5 separate regions of the Homo sapiens genome follow, and all the other regions are linked to region 1. Evidence: promoter capture Hi-C in human tissues and cell types (Jung and others, 2019). All regions are on one chromosome and are shown on one strand. Each heading gives the region's core, a stretch centred on a gene start or on the middle of the fragment in contact. The rest is flanking DNA. Distances are from core to core; before and after follow the strand shown.

Evidence for each region. Contacts are between HindIII fragments. The study calls those that stand out against the background at their distance.
Region 2: a fragment that was not itself captured here is called in contact with the fragment with the promoter of N4BP2 in region 1 in 2 of the 25 tissues and cell types used here (dorsolateral prefrontal cortex and lymphoblastoid cells).
Region 3: the fragment with the promoter of RBM47 here is called in contact with the fragment with the promoter of N4BP2 in region 1 in 1 of the 25 tissues and cell types used here (IMR-90 fibroblasts).
Region 4: a contact is called between a fragment that was not itself captured here and the fragment with the promoter of N4BP2 in region 1, in 3 of the 25 tissues and cell types used here (dorsolateral prefrontal cortex, lymphoblastoid cells and small bowel).
Region 5: the fragment with the promoter of UGDH here is called in contact with the fragment with the promoter of N4BP2 in region 1 in 2 of the 25 tissues and cell types used here (adrenal gland and mesendoderm cells).

Annotation. Positions count from the first base shown.
Region 1 is chr4:40,055,600-40,058,726 of GRCh38, reverse strand. N4BP2 (NEDD4 binding protein 2) reads right to left here and starts at 1,877. Exons shown (of 18, transcript NM_018177.6): 1 at 1,697-1,877. It also overlaps the pseudogene LOC344967. RefSeq lists enhancers at 816-915, 1,016-1,065 and silencers at 1,256-1,605, 1,656-2,115, 2,456-2,665. The HindIII fragment of the contact is 26,276 bases long and covers 1-3,127 here.
Region 2 is chr4:39,473,336-39,476,462 of GRCh38, reverse strand. The region is part of intron 10 of LIAS (lipoic acid synthetase); the gene reads right to left. Among named protein-coding and RNA genes, the nearest start is that of LIAS, 16 kb to the right of the region's middle. The HindIII fragment of the contact is 7,806 bases long and covers 1-3,127 here.
Region 3 is chr4:40,628,421-40,631,547 of GRCh38, reverse strand. RBM47 (RNA binding motif protein 47) reads left to right here and starts at 1,684. Exons shown (of 7, transcript NM_001098634.2): 1 at 1,684-2,152. RefSeq lists enhancers at 1,821-1,890, 1,073-1,950, 1,951-2,827. The HindIII fragment of the contact is 13,848 bases long and covers 1-3,127 here.
Region 4 is chr4:40,611,535-40,614,661 of GRCh38, reverse strand. All of the region lies in intron 1 of RBM47 (RNA binding motif protein 47), which reads left to right. Among named protein-coding and RNA genes, the nearest start is that of RBM47, 17 kb to the left of the region's middle. RefSeq lists an enhancer at 259-318. The HindIII fragment of the contact is 4,638 bases long and covers 1-3,127 here.
Region 5 is chr4:39,525,846-39,528,972 of GRCh38, reverse strand. UGDH (UDP-glucose 6-dehydrogenase) reads left to right here and starts at 1,534. Exons shown (of 12, transcript NM_003359.4): 1 at 1,534-1,690. It overlaps UGDH-AS1 (UGDH antisense RNA 1), which reads right to left and starts at 1,134. Exons shown (of 5, transcript NR_047679.1): 1 at 635-1,134. RefSeq lists an enhancer at 650-709 and silencers at 1,090-1,389, 1,640-1,819. The HindIII fragment of the contact is 14,033 bases long and covers 1-3,127 here.

The sequences.
Region 1 (3,127 bases), core at 628-3,127:
AGATACTATGCCTACTTTAATATACTTTAATGAAGGAAAAAACATGCCTCTACCATAACTTAAGCCCACTTTTTCTATGAAATACAGTACTTCTATCTCCCCTTCAAATTAACTAAAGTCAACAAGTACACAAACTGGCATTCGTACGTACTGCGTGCTGATTTCAACTGCTTTATTCTTTATTGTTTTACAGGTTAGTCTTTTTTCATTAACTAAATTGTAGCCTCCTTGCAAAAGAGCAGCCATTTATTTCCTATTCTTCCCACCATGTCCACCACTACAGCCCCTCGCTCCTACCCCCCATCCTAGCACGGCACTTAAATAATAAAAGGTCCTGGCAGCGAAACTCAAAACTGTTTATTTCTGACCTTTAGCAGTAAACAATGTTAGAAAGGCAGATGGAACCACGTTTATCAAAACACAGAACACACGATGTTTACATTTCCTAAAGCGCGTCTTTTAGTTAAAATTAAAGGATGAGAGTTAAAACGAGTTACAAAAGACAGCTGGTGTTTGAAAGAAAAACACTGGAAGTAATAAAAACGGAGTGAAAAGGCTGATGTTGGGATTAAAAGAAAACATTTTTTTAATACAGCTGCAAATCAGTCATTGTTTTCTGAGAGGCTAGGTTCATCTCCAGGATTTTCTTCTAGGAGCTCAACCAATGGCCACCTTTACTGAGTTAACCAGTCTCCAGGCAAGCAGCCCTTGCTGATTGGCTCAAAGATGTCGAGTAGAAAAAGCAGCCAATCCTGCCTTCAAGCCAGAACTGTGCCATGGAGACATTACAACCACTGCATGGCGAGAATGTGTACAAACCTGTCCGTGCCACAAATATCAGATCCTAGTTACAAAGACTGCCGCCGAAAGGAAGAGCCTTTGAAGCCAACACTGACACTGACCTGTCATCTACATTCTATTACTCTAGCTCTCTTTCGGAGGGAAAAAAAAAACTATTTTAACCAAAAGCGCATGAGAGATAAACTGTGCCCCCGCTAAGATGACTCACTCTATTGAGGATGAATTTCCAAACGGACGGCTTAGAGAGAGTCCCGATGAGAGAGGGGCTCTAGAAGGGTCCCATTGAGGGACAAAGTTGCAGATGGGGGCAGGGGAGGCGGGACGAGGGCCAAAGACACACAAATGCCGGGGAGGGGAAAGTCTCCCCGCAGTCTCCAAAATCCGAACGTGTGAGTGGCTGTGTGTCTGGACTTGAACTGAGTAAATAAACGGCTCTGCTAGGACTATGTGCTCAGGAAGGTGGCCTGAAGTTCCCAGAAGGCTCCGCCTGGCAAACACCTAAGGCGCCTGGAGGGGCGCAAGGTCAGGTCCCGGCGGGAACAGATCTGGGAGGAAACCTCGGGGGGTCGAGAGGGGTGTGTCTGGGGCCTGGAGGCCCGCCAGGCACTCGGAGGCCAAGGAAGCGGCCGCGGCCCCCGCCTTCGCCCGGCCTCGGGCTGAGCGCCAGGGCCCGCCTCTCGCCGACGCCTCACTTCCCTTCCGTCCGGGCAGCCGGGCCCGCGGGTCAGATCGGAGGCGGCCCGCGCCGGGCCCCACATTCAGGGCTTGGGGGTTCATTCGCCGCGCCGCCCGCCGCTGCTTCAGGCCCTCCGCTTCGGCTCGGAGCCCCGGGACCCCTAACCTCCAGGGCCCTCACCTTGGACCCGCCTCCCTGCCTCCCACCCGCCGCCTTTACCTGCTTCTGGAGCGGGCAGAGGGCGTCGAAGCCGGTGCCGCGTCGTCGAACGCACAACGCGGCGCCGCAGGTCCGCAGCCCTTTCCCGCCGGCGCCACTGCGCTCTCCCGCGCCGCGCAAGGCTAGCAAGCAGCTGCGGCCGCGGGGGAGACACGGCGAGCGCGCCCGGCGGGGAGACACTGCCGCTCTCCGTCCGGCCGGGGAAGAGCAGCCGCGCAGAAGCCCGCCGCGAGAGGGCGGGTGGGCGGCCGGGTGGGGAGGGGTCTCGAGGCGCCGGCAATGGCTGCCACGTCGCCCAGGTGGATCGCCGCCCACCGCCCCCCCCCAAGCCCGCCGGCTGTCCGCCACGACCTCTGCTTCGTCCCCGAGCTCCGCCTCGGCGCGGCGGCCCGGGGGACTTGAGCCCGCGGGCGCTCCCACCTCTCCCGCTCCCGCTCTCCCGTTGGAGAGCAAGCCCTGCCCGGCCGGTTCGGCTGCTTCCGGTCGCCCACCCCCCAAGTCTCGCCCGAGAGCGGGCCGTGGTCCCCACTTTTCTTATCAGGGGGTCCCTGGAGGAGCAAGCCCTTCTTCGAGTGTCGGGTTCTGCTTGGGGGGAAGGCGGGAGCTGTTTGGCGCTGGGGAACATTGCAACAGGCCCGGAATTTTTGCCAAAATAAGCGGCGCGGTAAACCACAGCTGTTTCTAGCCCTCGGCACTCTCCCGAGCCCCAAAAAACAAAACAAACACAAGGTCGGCCTCGCGAGGTGAGGGGAGAAAGGAAAGCAGAGCTGGGACGAGCCCTGACGCGCGCGGGGTCCAGGCTGCAAGTTGGGAGGGACGGCGAGGCGAGCGACCGGCCTCGGCATTGCCTGACTAGGGCCGTGGCCGCTGCGGCGGGCACGGGAACCCGCCTTCTCGCGCGCGGCCCTCCCGCGGGGGGCTTCCGGGCGCGCGGCCTCGGAGCCCCACGGGGAGACAAAGGGGTAGGCGACTGCCACGGGGTGGAGGGAGGCTGCCCAGCCCCATCGGCCCTGCCAGCGTGCGGTCTGAGCTCGGGGAATGTGTGCGCCTTAGCCGGTGGAACCGCAGCCGCTGGCCTTTGCCCCCAGTTCGAGCTTGAGTTTTCGGATGCCAAGAAAAAGCAAAGACGTGCTCTTCCCTCTTGCGACCGCTGTAGTATGAGTCCGTCCCCAAGCCTGCACCATTTTTTTTCTCTCAACTCTGCTTTCCCTGGTTTATTTGTTCTGGGTTCTGATGTGAAATGTTTAGTGTTTTCAGGGTACGCAAATTTTTCACCTTTGCTTTCTGGTTGGTGGTGGTGGTGGTGATGGTAGTGGTGGTGGTTTTGCCTGTTTTTTACTTCCTCCGTCCCCTCCCTTTGCGGTTACTTTTCATTCCACTTGCAGTGGTTTTTCCCAGAATAGAGAAGCGAAATAACCTCATGACAAAGTG
Region 2 (3,127 bases), core at 278-2,777, 580 kb after region 1:
CATGACTCAATGCTTATTGGTAGAGTGCAGCACTAGAGGCCTGATTTTATGAGGAGTCTGATTAACTTCTCTTTGTCATCTTACATATGAGTAGAACTGTGATGAGTCTATCTACATATAATCTCTGCAAATCCCAAGGCTCATAACCCAGCCAAGTAATCCATGCTGCTCCATACCTCCTCCAAATGTCGTGGGAGTAGCACCAACTTTATCAGACCCTAATCCATCATTTTAGTCTAATGCTCATCATATACCAGAATCTGATCTTTTCCTGGTAATTTAGAAAGCATCAGAAAGTTCATAATTTACTTCCTTTTATGTTAGAAATTTTTCTTTAGCAAAAGAAAAACTCCTTTCAAAGGACATTACTCTAACCATTCTAGAAGCTGATAGTGGTTCTATCCTTCACATGTATTTTTAGCTTGCCAGCAGTGCTGCTTGAAGACTAAATCACTTACAATTACTGGTTTTCAAAGTCCCCACATTCTGTCACTCAGTGCTGAATCAAATTCTTGGGTTTTCAAACTATGATGAGCTACTAGTTCATTAAAATGTTTTAAATTACTATTTTTATTTATTTATTTTTGAGACGGGGTCTCATTCTGTCACCCAGGCTGGAGTGCAGTGGCACGATCACAGCTCACTGCAGCCTCAACCTCCTGGGCTCAGGTGATCCTCCCACCTCAACCTCCTGGGTAGCTAGAACTAGAGGTGCCCACCACCACCCAGCAACTCAGCCACCCAGCTAATTTTTGTATTTTTGTAGAGATGGGGTTTTGCCATGTTGCCCAGGCTGGTCTTGAACTCCTGGGCTCAAGTGATCCACCCGCCTCGGCCTCCCAAAGTGCTAGGAGTACAGGCGTGAGCCACTGCACCCGGCCTTAAATGTCTTTATAGGAACTAGGAACATACAGAATATTACTAATACTGGAGCATTAATTTTTTCAAATAGAATTTGTCTAATTTAAACATATTTAAGATTTAGACCCCAATATATAAAGCAATCATTTAAAACATCACCACTTTAGATAAAAAAAAAAAATACCTAGTTTATTTATTTATTTACTTATTTATTTATTTTTGAGACAGAGTCTTGCTCTGTTGCCCAGACTGGAGTGCAGTGGCATGATCTTGGCTCACCACAACCTCTGTCTCTCGGGTTCAAGCAATTTTCCTGCCTCAGCCTCCCAAGTAGCTGGGACTACAGGCACACACCACCATGCCCGGCTAATTTTTGTATATATATTTTTTCTTTTGGAGACAGAGTGTTGCTCTTTCGCCAGGCTGGAGTGGAGTGGCAGGATCTTGGCTCACTGCAACCTCTGCCTCCCAGGTTCAAGCTATTCTCTTGCCTCAGCCTCCCGAGTAGCTGGGACTACAGGTGCGCAGCACCATGCCCAGCTAATTTTTGTATTTTTAGTAGAGATGGGGTTTCACCATGTTGGCCAGGATGATCTCAATCTCTTGACCTTGTGATCTGCCCACCTCGGCCTCCCAAAGTGTTGGGATTTCAGGCATTAGCCACCACGCCTGGCCAATACCTAGTTTATTTTTAAAGAGACAAGGTCAGCCGGGTGCGGTGGCTCACACCTGTAATCCCAGCACTTTGGGAGGCCCAGGTGGGCGGATCACAAGGTCAGGAGATCGAGGTCATCCTGGCTAACACGGTGAAACCCCGTCTCTACTAAAAATACAAAAAATTAGCCAGGCGTGGTGGCGGGCACCTGTAGTCCCAGCTACTCAGGAGGCTGAGGCAGGAGAATGCCGTGAACCTGAGAGGCAGAGGTTGCAGTGAGTCAAGATTGTGCCACTGCACTCCAGCCTGGGCGATGGAGAGAGACTGCATCTAAAAAAAAAATAATAATAATAAAATAAAAAATAAAGAGATGAGATCTCACAATGTTGCTCAGGCTGTATTTGAACTCCTGGGCCCATGCGATCCTCCTGCCTCGGTCTCCCAAGAAGTTGGGACTATAGGCACACACCACCACACCTGGCCTAGCTGTTTCTTTTTTTTATTTTATTTTTGAGACACAGTGTCTTGCTCTGTCACCCAGGCTGGAGCTGTAGTGACACGATCATAGCTCACTGCATCCTTGAACTCCTAGGCTCAAGTAATCCAACTGCCTTCCAAAGTGCTGGGATTACAGGCATGAGCCACCTTGCCTGGCCTATTTATTCTTTTTTTTTTTTTTTTTTTGAGACAGAGTCTTGCTCTGTTGCCCAGGCTGGAGTGCAGTGGCACAATCTCGGCTCACTGCAAGCTCGGCCTCCTGGGTTCATGCCATTCTGCTGCCTCAGCCTCCCGAGTAGCTGGGACTGCAGGTGCCCGCCACCATGCCCGGCTAATTTTTTTGTATTTTTAGTGGAGAGGGTTTCACCGTGTTAGCCAGGATGGTCTCGATCTCCTGACCTCGTGATTTGCCCGCCTCAGCCTCCCAAAGTGCTGGGATTACAGGTGTGAGCCACCCCACCTGGCCAGCCAATTTATTCTTAATCATTATAATTGTTAAGTCCAACTGACAGGGACATCATAAACACTTTCTAGATTAAATTCGGTCTTCAGATATGTTCTTTTGGATCCTCCGACAATCATTATCACATGACTTTTTATCCCTTGGAAAATGATTTTCTTTTCATAAATCAATTCAAGCTATTGATTAAAATAAGAGCTGAAATTCCAAAAGTAAAAAAAATTTGCATTGTAGCTAGTAAAACAACTAAACGTTCCTACGGAGAAAAATAATCTTATGGATATTTTTCTGTTGCCTCTGGGGGAAAAATACAAAGAAATTTAATGATGCAAGCAATGCTATCAAATAAGATACTTTTCAGTGCTTAAACTGATTGAAACTGAGTCTGGAGATGCAGCTGGCATCATTTCCAAATAAATATGTATTTCTCAGAAAACCCTATTAGATGCTTGACATGCTCTGTCATTTCTGAATAACCTACTACTGAAATCTACACATAGAAAAAATTAATAAACTAATTGTTTCTGCTTTTACTATAGTAGCTGAGTTACAAAGCAGGGGGCTGAATTTGTTTAAGAAACAAAAGATTAAGAGAAACTTTTCTTAATATGATCCCCATGGAGCAAAGCTCCTAAGGATGTTCCAGAAGAAAA
Region 3 (3,127 bases), core at 435-2,934, 570 kb before region 1:
TCATTATTTGTCCGGCCCAGTCTGGGATAAGTAACTATCCCAGGGTAAGACACCAGGTCAAGTGCCAAAATACAAATGAGAATTAAGCATAGCAGATGGGTGATTGCTGGGCCCTGAATTTCCTTCCCGTTAGTGAGCTTCATGGAATGCAGGCAAATTTATCTCCATTTCTGTTGTCAATCTTGTAACTTTTAAGTGAGATGAAATTCAGTTGGCTACCCTTTACAGGGACTTTATTTCCCATTGTATTCAAGACTGTCAGCAATGAATATAAACTGTTTGTAAAAATCCCATCGTTAGAATCTTCCAGAAACTGAGGCTGGGAGAGATTAAATATCTTGCTCATGGCCTCACAGCTGGTGAGTGGCAATGCTGGTGCTACAGCCCATGTCTAACTCTGACCACACACTCTTCTTCAGAAAAAAGCCATAATGTAAATAATAATAAGAAGAATAACAACAACAATAACGGCAGCTAACACTGTGTGCTAGGCACCGTTCTAAGCTCTTTGCATGTGTTAACTCAACCAGCAAAGAACCATTTTTGGAACATTCTTTCACTAAAGTAGCCCGGTATTTTTTTCTTTCCCCTCAGCTGAATGACACTGCAACCCGAAATCACAACTCTGTTTTAGGTTCCTGGTGGTGCCTGCTTCCTCTTCTAGTTTGTTTAGTCACAGAATTCGATTCCTGTTGGCCCATTCCGCGCCTACAAACAGGCTTAGCGCTCCACTGAAATGCGGGAGGCTCCTTAACTCTTGTATAAACAGGTAAGGCGGAGGGGGTGGGGCGCGGATTGCGGACATCTGGGTTTCTTGGGAATTGGGATGGGGTGGGGGTTCGAGCCAACTCCCCAGAGAGCAGGCAAGGTGAAGCGAGGGCTTGGCTGCTGTTTCTAAATGCAGTGTTTTTTTGTTCCCTTTCTAGAAACCCTCCGTAACTCTAGGTCAGAGCGCACTAAAATGAGCCACTTCTGAACGAGCAGCGCCCAGGCCCCAGGCCCTGCTGCGAAGGCCCCGGCAAAGGTCAGGGCCCCGTCCGCGTGACGCTCCTGCCTGCGCGCGGCCAAGCCATGCTCGGCCCCAGGTAAGGACGCCCCGGGAGCTCGCCCCGGGAGCTCTCCCCGGGCACGCGGGGGTCGCAGAGATCCCACCTCGTCCAGCGACTTGTTTATGGGGGGAAGAAGGGGAGCGGGGCGGTTCCGATCGGCTTGAAATTCAGCAGCAGGTTCCTAATTTCTCCAACGTGGTTCTGGCTGGGTTTCTCGGAGCAGCCCGAAGGGGGCCGAGCGTCTGACTCGGACAGATGCCCCCAGGTGGAGCAGGTGCCACTTCTGGGTGTCTGAAAGGCATGTGACTTTTGGGGCGGGGAGAGAAGTCCGTCTGGTCAAGTCCCCCAATCTCTGCCATCAAGGCCGATTTTCTTTGAACCTTCAGCAAAGGTATCTGCGCTCCTAAAAAACAACAGGAATGTGGCACTGGCCTTTAGCCAGGGGAGGCTCAGCCAGCAGGATAAAATTTCAGGGCAGATTTACGGGAAGTTGCCGGTGTTGGGAGTAAAAATCTGGTTTGGTGAGTTTAAGGGAAGGGAGTAGACGAGAGACAACCTTGCTACTGTGAGGCGGATGGCCTCGGCAGGGGGCGGGCGGCGGGAGGAGAGAGGGAGGGAACCGGGAAGGGCCCGCAGACTAGACGCTGAGCGCTCCCGTGCGCAGCGCCCCACGCAGCCGGGACGCGGCGCCGCTCTGCGGGTGGAACCGCCGCGCGCTCCCGGCCTCGGGAGCTGAGCCCGAGAGAACTTCGCTGCCTTCGGGTCGCCGCTCCCGCTTTCCACTGTGGAATGTGCAGCTTGGGATAGAGAGAAACCAGGGTTTGGGGAGCGGTCCTCCTGGAGACTTTCTCTCTGCAAGTCTCCAAGGTTAAGCAATTCTGACCCACTGGAATTCCCAGAGCCTGGGAGTTAAGCCTAAAACGCTCTGTTGCTTTAAGCGGCGCGGTGGGGAGTCGCTGGACACTCCTTATTTTGGTTTTACATTAAAAAGAAGGCGGACGAGAAGATGTTGTAGGTGACTTCCTAGCTGTGTTAAGTTGCTCCTGGGCTGTGAATGGTGTTAATTTCTGAAGTGGGCGGCTCCAAAAACTTAACAAGGAAAGGTAAGGTGGTTTTTGGTAGTCCTTCTAACTATTGTCCCTTAATCTTACATTTGGGTCCCAATTTTTGAAGTGTATATTTTTTTCTTATTCTTCTCTCTTTAGCTCTTATCCCTCATGCTATCACTCATCTTCTGTCTCTTGGTATATTTAGTGGGAAATAAAGGGTTTATAAAACGGTTTTAAAAGGGTCAACCTCTGGGAAGGCAGATAATCATATACAGTCAGTCCCATCGTGTTTCCTGTAGTGATGAATCTTTTCCCATAAAAGAAACTGATTTTTTTTTTTCACTCTTGAAAATACATGATTGGACCGCCCAGAAGCACAGGTGACTTTAGACTCAGATTATTACAGTGAGACTGAGGAAGCGTCCTGGACAGGAGGCATCTCATTTAAGTGTTAACCAAGGCAGAGGGGGGTCTTCCTGCAGTAATTTACGTCTGAAAGTAACACTCGGTAGAGGTGTAGTTGTTTCAAATTAAAAATTCAGCCTGTAGAAAAGGGTAGGACTGACGAATTATGACATCTGACAAATTAGCAGTTGACCGGATATTTAAGAAATCAGATAAAATAAATGGAAGTGGAATTTTTCAAATAAATGACTCATTTTTTAATTAGGTAAAAGTTCAGCCACTCTTGGGTACTGTCCCAAGGCATAAGTGATAGGAAGATACCATCTTCAAGGTACTTACAGGCCATTACCGACCTGAACTAAAAATCAAACCTTTTTTTTTTATCTGGTGGTATTTTAATGACTCACTGTTTTCTTTAGCAGGAATATAGATTTTAAAATGTATTCTTTAAAAGTTTTAAGGCAAGGTCATACGAATTTCTCAGGGGAGGGAAAGCAAAGGGTTGACAACCCAACATGAAGGAGTTGCCGAAGTTTTGAGCTCAAAAGGTTGGCAATTAGATCCAGAGCATTTGAGAATTGCAGGTGCCGATTCTAAAAGGTGAAAGGTGGTCAGCGGCGTAAC
Region 4 (3,127 bases), core at 443-2,942, 560 kb before region 1:
GGGTCTCATTCTTTTGCCCAGGTTTGTCTCAAACTTCTGGGCTCAAGCGTTCCTACCCCTTTGGCCTCTCAGAGTGTTGTAATTACAGGTGTGAGCCACTGCCCCTGGCCAAGACTCTTGTAAAGCTTCCCAAAGGAGGTCAGGTTTGGAAAAACCAGGTCTTTGGACCAGGACCCAGTCTTCTACAAGATCTGTTCTTGGCTTATATCACCTCAGACAATTGACCCTGGCCATGGCCCTTCTCCTCACTGCCTTTCACTTTCCTTTCTTTTAAAATTAGATAGAAGGGAGGGGAGATTTTGGACTAGGCTTTGACTTATGTTTTACACAGCTGCAATTTTCTCTAATTCTTTTTACTTTCATGGTTCAAGTCACTAAAAGGCTGCTGGTTCATTTGATGTTGAAGGGAAGATGGGGGTTGGGTGGATGGGGGATGGTTACTTGGCTTTAAGTCGCAGGAAGGAAATAATGCTGGGTTAGATGGCTCGTTCCAAATCTTACAAAGTTCTTACAGATTTGATTCTTAACTCTCAGATCCCTTCTGAGATAGTGAATATTGCTAGTATATAGGATGGTTCCAGACTGGTGGTTCTAGATTTTGTCTTCCAAGGAACATTTGGTAATGTCTGGAGATGTTTTTGGTTGTCACAATGTGGGAGGCAGTAGTGGGGATGGGGATTGGGAGCTTCTGGCATCTAGTAGGTAAAGGCCAGGTGTACTGCTGGACATCCTACAATGCCCAGGAGAACCACTCAAAACAAAGAATTATCCAGCCCAAAATGTCCATAGGGCTGAGGCTGAGAAACCCAATTCTAGACTGTTCTCCACAGTCACTACTGTCCTTTTTTTTTTTTTTAAGTTTTATTTTTTAAGACATGGGATCTCACTATGTTGTCCAGGCTGGTCTTGAACTCCTGGTTCAAGCAATCCTCCTGCCTTGGCCTCCCAAAGTGCTGGGATTACAAGCATGAGTCACCATACCTGGCCTGTTACTACTGTCTTACACACCATGAACAGCATTCCTTTCTTTAGTTTTTTATCACCAATGAGTTAAACTCATCTGTCTTCTGATGATGCAGGGTCTAAGAAGGTATGAGGGGAGAAGGTCAGTAAAAAGTTGAACTGAACTCTGTTCTTAGGAATGTTAAGTGTTTTAACAGCAGCCTGCTAGAAAAGTCATTTCGTAGTTTATTTTTCCCTTTCTTGTGGATTCAGTCACTTCACTGTTTCCTTCTCAGATTCTAAGAATTTTTCTTTCGAGGCTACTAATGTCATTAGAATATCCCCAGAGTTTTGGTATACTTTTTTTTTATTGAGGGACTTCTTGATATTTATATATTTTGGACAAAGCTGAACTTTGAGAAAGTTGTTAGTAGAATCTTTTCAGACCTAAAGATGCCTGAAGTTTAAAGGTTTAGGTTTGGTTAAAATGAAGTTGTCCTATGTTTTATTAAGACTGTATCTTGACTTCATTTAAAGCAAAAAAAATAAAAATCATTGTACAGTGCTTTCAGCTTCATGGCGAGACACTTATATTAAATGAACACATGCTGGTGTATAGCTGGACTGTCAGCAGCTTTGGGAAAACAGCAAACATTCAAGGATGGCTAGAAATGAGCTCCGTGTACCAGGCTGACTTTCCTTTGAAGAAACCTTTTAGTCAATATTTGATGTCTTGTAGATTTGGGGAAGAAAGATAAATAAATGTGTTTGCAGTTGTTCCTGGCTGAGAGAAGCTGAGTTTACCTAAGTTTCCATAATAAATTAATTACAACCAAAGGAAATGAAACAAAAGCCTAGGGGATGAAGATCATAGGTGAATGAAGATCCCTCTGCAAATTGACATGGGTTCTAGGTTTGACTTCTTTGTAGTGGAAATAAAATGCAGCTGAATGAGCTCTCATTTTTGCTGAATATAAGATACCTTCAAATTTAATAAATGGGAAAATGATGTGTACTGAGAAGCTTGGACATTCTCTGATGACCTTTTGTGTTATTTCAGTTCATTTAAGGTCACAAAAGTCCTACAAATGCCCTGTTGGATCAGATTAAAGAACTGCTCATCCTAGTTTCTGCAGACTTCAGAGAATATATTTTAGACAAAGTCATTCTTAGAATTTCTAGCTATACTTCTTCTTTTTTGAGAGACAGAGTCTGGCTCTCTTGCCCAGGCTGGAGTGCAAGTGCAGTGGTGCGATCTTGGTTCACTGCAACCTCCGCCTCCTGGGTTCAAGCTATTCTCTTGCCTCAGCCTCCCAAGTAGCTGGGATTGCAAGCATGTGCCACTACACGTGGCTATTTTTTGTGTGTGTTTTTAGTAGAGGCTGTTCTTGAACTCCTGACCTCAAGTGATCTGCCCACATCGGCCTTCCAAAGTGCTGGGATTACAGGCGTGAGCCACTGCACCCGGCCATCTAACTATACTTCTTGAATATCAGTTAGATACGGACCCTAGATACCATTAATTCTCCACATCCACATGTTATGGATCCATGATCAGGATCTAATTCATTCAGATTCCCCAGGACTTCTTGTTAAAGCAGTATTTACTTTTCTTCCCTCCAAAGCTCACTTTCAGACTTCTACAGGTGGCCCATTTACCTTCATTCCAACGCTCTTGACCCTTCATTCTTTTAACATTTGAATTCTATTCCATTTCCATCTTAATCCTTCTGTTCTGAAGAGGCCTGAGTCTTGCGTGGAAGGCCAAGACTCAACGCTTGATTATTTTATTACACCTCTCATGTATCTTATTGGAGATACATTATATATATATAATCAATGATATCTTGGATAAGATGTCCCAGTTTAATCTCAGATGCTCTTTGGTTTTGCCCAAGTCTTGAATAGTGATTTCAAGTTTGCTTCCAAAACTCATTTTGATGATTCTATGTGGGTGGTTTTTTTTGTTTTGTTTTGTTTTTGTTTTTTTTGAGACAGAGTTTTGCTCTTGTTGCCCAGGCTGGAGTGCAATGGTGCGATCTCGGCTCACCGCAACCTCTGCCTCCCGGGTTCAAGCGATTCTCCTGCCTCAGCCTCCTGGTAGCTGGGATTACAGGCATGCGCCACGATACCCAGCTAATTTTTTTTTTTTTGTATTTTTAGTAGAGGCAGGGTTTCTCCATGT
Region 5 (3,127 bases), core at 285-2,784, 530 kb after region 1:
CACTTTGGGAGGCCGAGACGGGCGGATCACCTGAGGTCAGGAGTTTGAGACCAGCCTGGTCAACATAGCAAAACCCGGTCTCTATTAAAAATATAAAAATTAGCCGGGCATGGTTGTGGGCGCCTGTAATCCCAGCTACTCGGGAGGCTGAGGCAGGAGAATCGTTTGAATCTGGAAGGAGGAGGTTGAGGTGAGCCGAGATCGCACCACTGCACTCCAGCCTCGGCGACAAGAGGGAGACTCCGTCTCAAAACAACCAACCAACAAGCCTACATATCCTGCCACACGTGCTACAATCCACAGCAAACTGTTTCATCCACATTCAACCACTTTCTTAAAGTCACCATCATGATCCTATCAAGAAAACCGTAATTTATATGGTATTTTAATGTGCCTTTATAAATTACTAATCACTTTCTTCATGATGTATGTTAAAATGGCTTATGTCACCTGATGTAATCCTTAATGAGGGAAATAAAAGGCCATGATTATGCCTGGCTTTTTTTCTTATATGTTAGATTTGAGTGTTAAAATGACCTCGAAGCGGCGAAAGAAAGGAACGGAACTGCCCTCCACATTAAAAATGAGCAGGCTCCATAGGTTAATTTTACTCTTCCTCACGCACGGCACTTACATGTTGCAAACTCTCTGCTCCACAGCACGCACAGACATCCCAAATCCCGGATTGGGCCTGAGGAACATCTCTGCAAAGAGCGCCAGGAGGGCGTGGGGGTCCCGCCTCTCTCGCCAGGGACCAGGGAGTGGACACTCACTGGTCCAGTCATGAGGAACTCAGCATCCTCCTGACGGGAGGCGCCTCTTTCCCAGAAGCGGTGGGTCAGGAGGAATCTGACTAAACCCTGGGTTGCCGGCCCGGAGGGCGCGGTTGACCCCGGGGCCTCGAGGTTGTGGGCGAGGAGTAATCCGCCCGCCGAGACCGACCCGCAGATCCAGGAGACCGAAACCCGAGGGCGGCGCTCCAGGGTGCTGAGGAGACCGGAAAGGCGGCCAGGACCTTCCGGTCGCCTCGGCCCACCACCCACCCAGTGTCCGCGCAGCCCTAAAGCCTGGCAGACGCGGAGCGCACGCGGCCTTTGCCTCGGCCAGGACAGGGCAGCGGGGAGAGGGCTGCTAGACAACAATTCTTGACCCCTCCTCGACCCACGACCGCCAGGTAGGCGCGCAAAGCTCCTACACCTGCGGCGCGCCCCCGTCCCCTGGTCCAGCGGACACGCCACGCACGCAGCCCCGCCCAGCGCCGCTCGCGGTAGGGGCGGAGCCGCTGAGCTGGCCAAAGCGGATTTGCCCAGCTAGGCCAGGGGCGGGGCAGGCCCTCCCAGCCAGGACCAGCCCCAGTCTCCCCGCCCCTGAGCCGTGAAGGAAATAGGGACCTGGCCCTGGGCCTTGTGTAGCGGGAGGGGGAGCTAGGAAGCAGCTGAGGGCAGAATCCAGGAGGGCCTGGCTGCGGGGGAATGAAGCCTCCGCCTTCGCAGGCAAAAGCCTTTAAATACGGGCTCAGGCCCGGGACTCAGAGTGTAACGCGTGGCAGCCTGAGGGAGGGGCGTGCGCCGAGAGGGAGCTCAGATCGAGCGGGGCGCGGGTGGAGAAGCTGCGGCGGCGCGGCCCGTAGGAAGGTGCTGTCCGAACGATCGGGATAGGAGCGGTCCCTGCGCTTGCTGCTGGGAAGTGGGTAAGCGCCGCTCCCAGGCTGGCCCCGCCGCCCGGGCGGGATGCTCCCAGGTCTGGGCGGGATGTGGAGGGAGCGGGGCTGGGGTGTGCGCGCTGCTCCCGGTCGCTCGCTGCGCTGGGTCCCGGGCTTCCCGTCTCACGACCTTCGTCTCTTTGGGGCTTAGGGCGGGAACCGCATTTTGGAACTGCTGTCCTGGGGATGTGGTCGTCTGGGCTTCTTATTCAAGACTCGTGAGTCTTCCAGCCCCTTCTCTTTCTGCCTTTACCCACTTTCCTGACTTGGATGAGATTTCCCTGCCGCCTCCAAAGCCGAACGCCCACCACAGGAAGCGGTTCTCTCGTTGGGGACCTCATTTTGGCCGCAGAGTCGTAGTCTTTTGTTTGTGTTTAAGAGTCTGCTCACCTGAGGGGCTCCTGCTTTTCTCATGCCGCCCCTCTTAAGAAACCAAAGAGAAACGAAGCCAGAAAGCCCTCTTGAGAGCAAAATACTAAGACTGCCGTGATATCTGTCCGGGATGTCCTGGAATCCATTGTTGGCCCCCTACACCACAGAATTGCTCTGTTTGATGTCGGGGAAGGCCTTTCCTGGGTGCCTCGGGAGACCATGTTTGTGTGAGATCTTGAAAAATTATACGTCCTATAAATATATAGGAAGATAACTTAGTAGGGTTAGGAATTCTAGTATAGAGAAAAGAGGGGTTCGCTGGTAGGGATCTATTCATGGGCATACAGAGCAGTAGCTGTCTATCGACAGACCTCAAAGACACAGTGAGCCTTTGAGTTTCTTCAAATCCCTTAAGAAATGGAGAACAGTAGTCTTTCTTCAGGGGGGTTCTGGAAATGAAAGAGCTGACTGTCTGCTCTGAGATGTGCTTATTAGTGGCCAGGATCCAGTTTAAGGTAAGGGGTAGACAACCCTGATTGAAAAGATCTCATTTCTTCTCCCGTTGCTGTACTCCTTTTTCTAACAAAATCTATAACTGGATAAGCATAATCCATCTTCCTTCTTGTTTACTTCCACAGCTTTACATGATAACCCTTAGACATAAAATTAATACCGGCTTTCTTACTGATTAAATATTTTTCTCTGGTCAGGCATCTTTTACTGTTTAATTTCTGGAAATGATTAAAATGTGTGAAGCTGATGTATCCAACTATAATGCCCATCGTTAGCTCCTGGGTACCTATGCAAAATATGCTGTAGAGAGCTGGGGCTAGAAGGATTATATTCCGTTTAGATTGTAGTAGGGCATTTGTTATTTGTTAGTGACCCCTTCTGGGTTGGAATGTTTATTTGAATTTATGAAATTTTACATGAAGAGTAGTTTTGGAACGGTTTGGTTTGTTGTGACTCTCCCAAAATACAGAGGTAAAAACTCATTTCAAAATAACCCATTTAATAAGGAAACACTCCTATGTCTCTGACAGCAGAATAGAG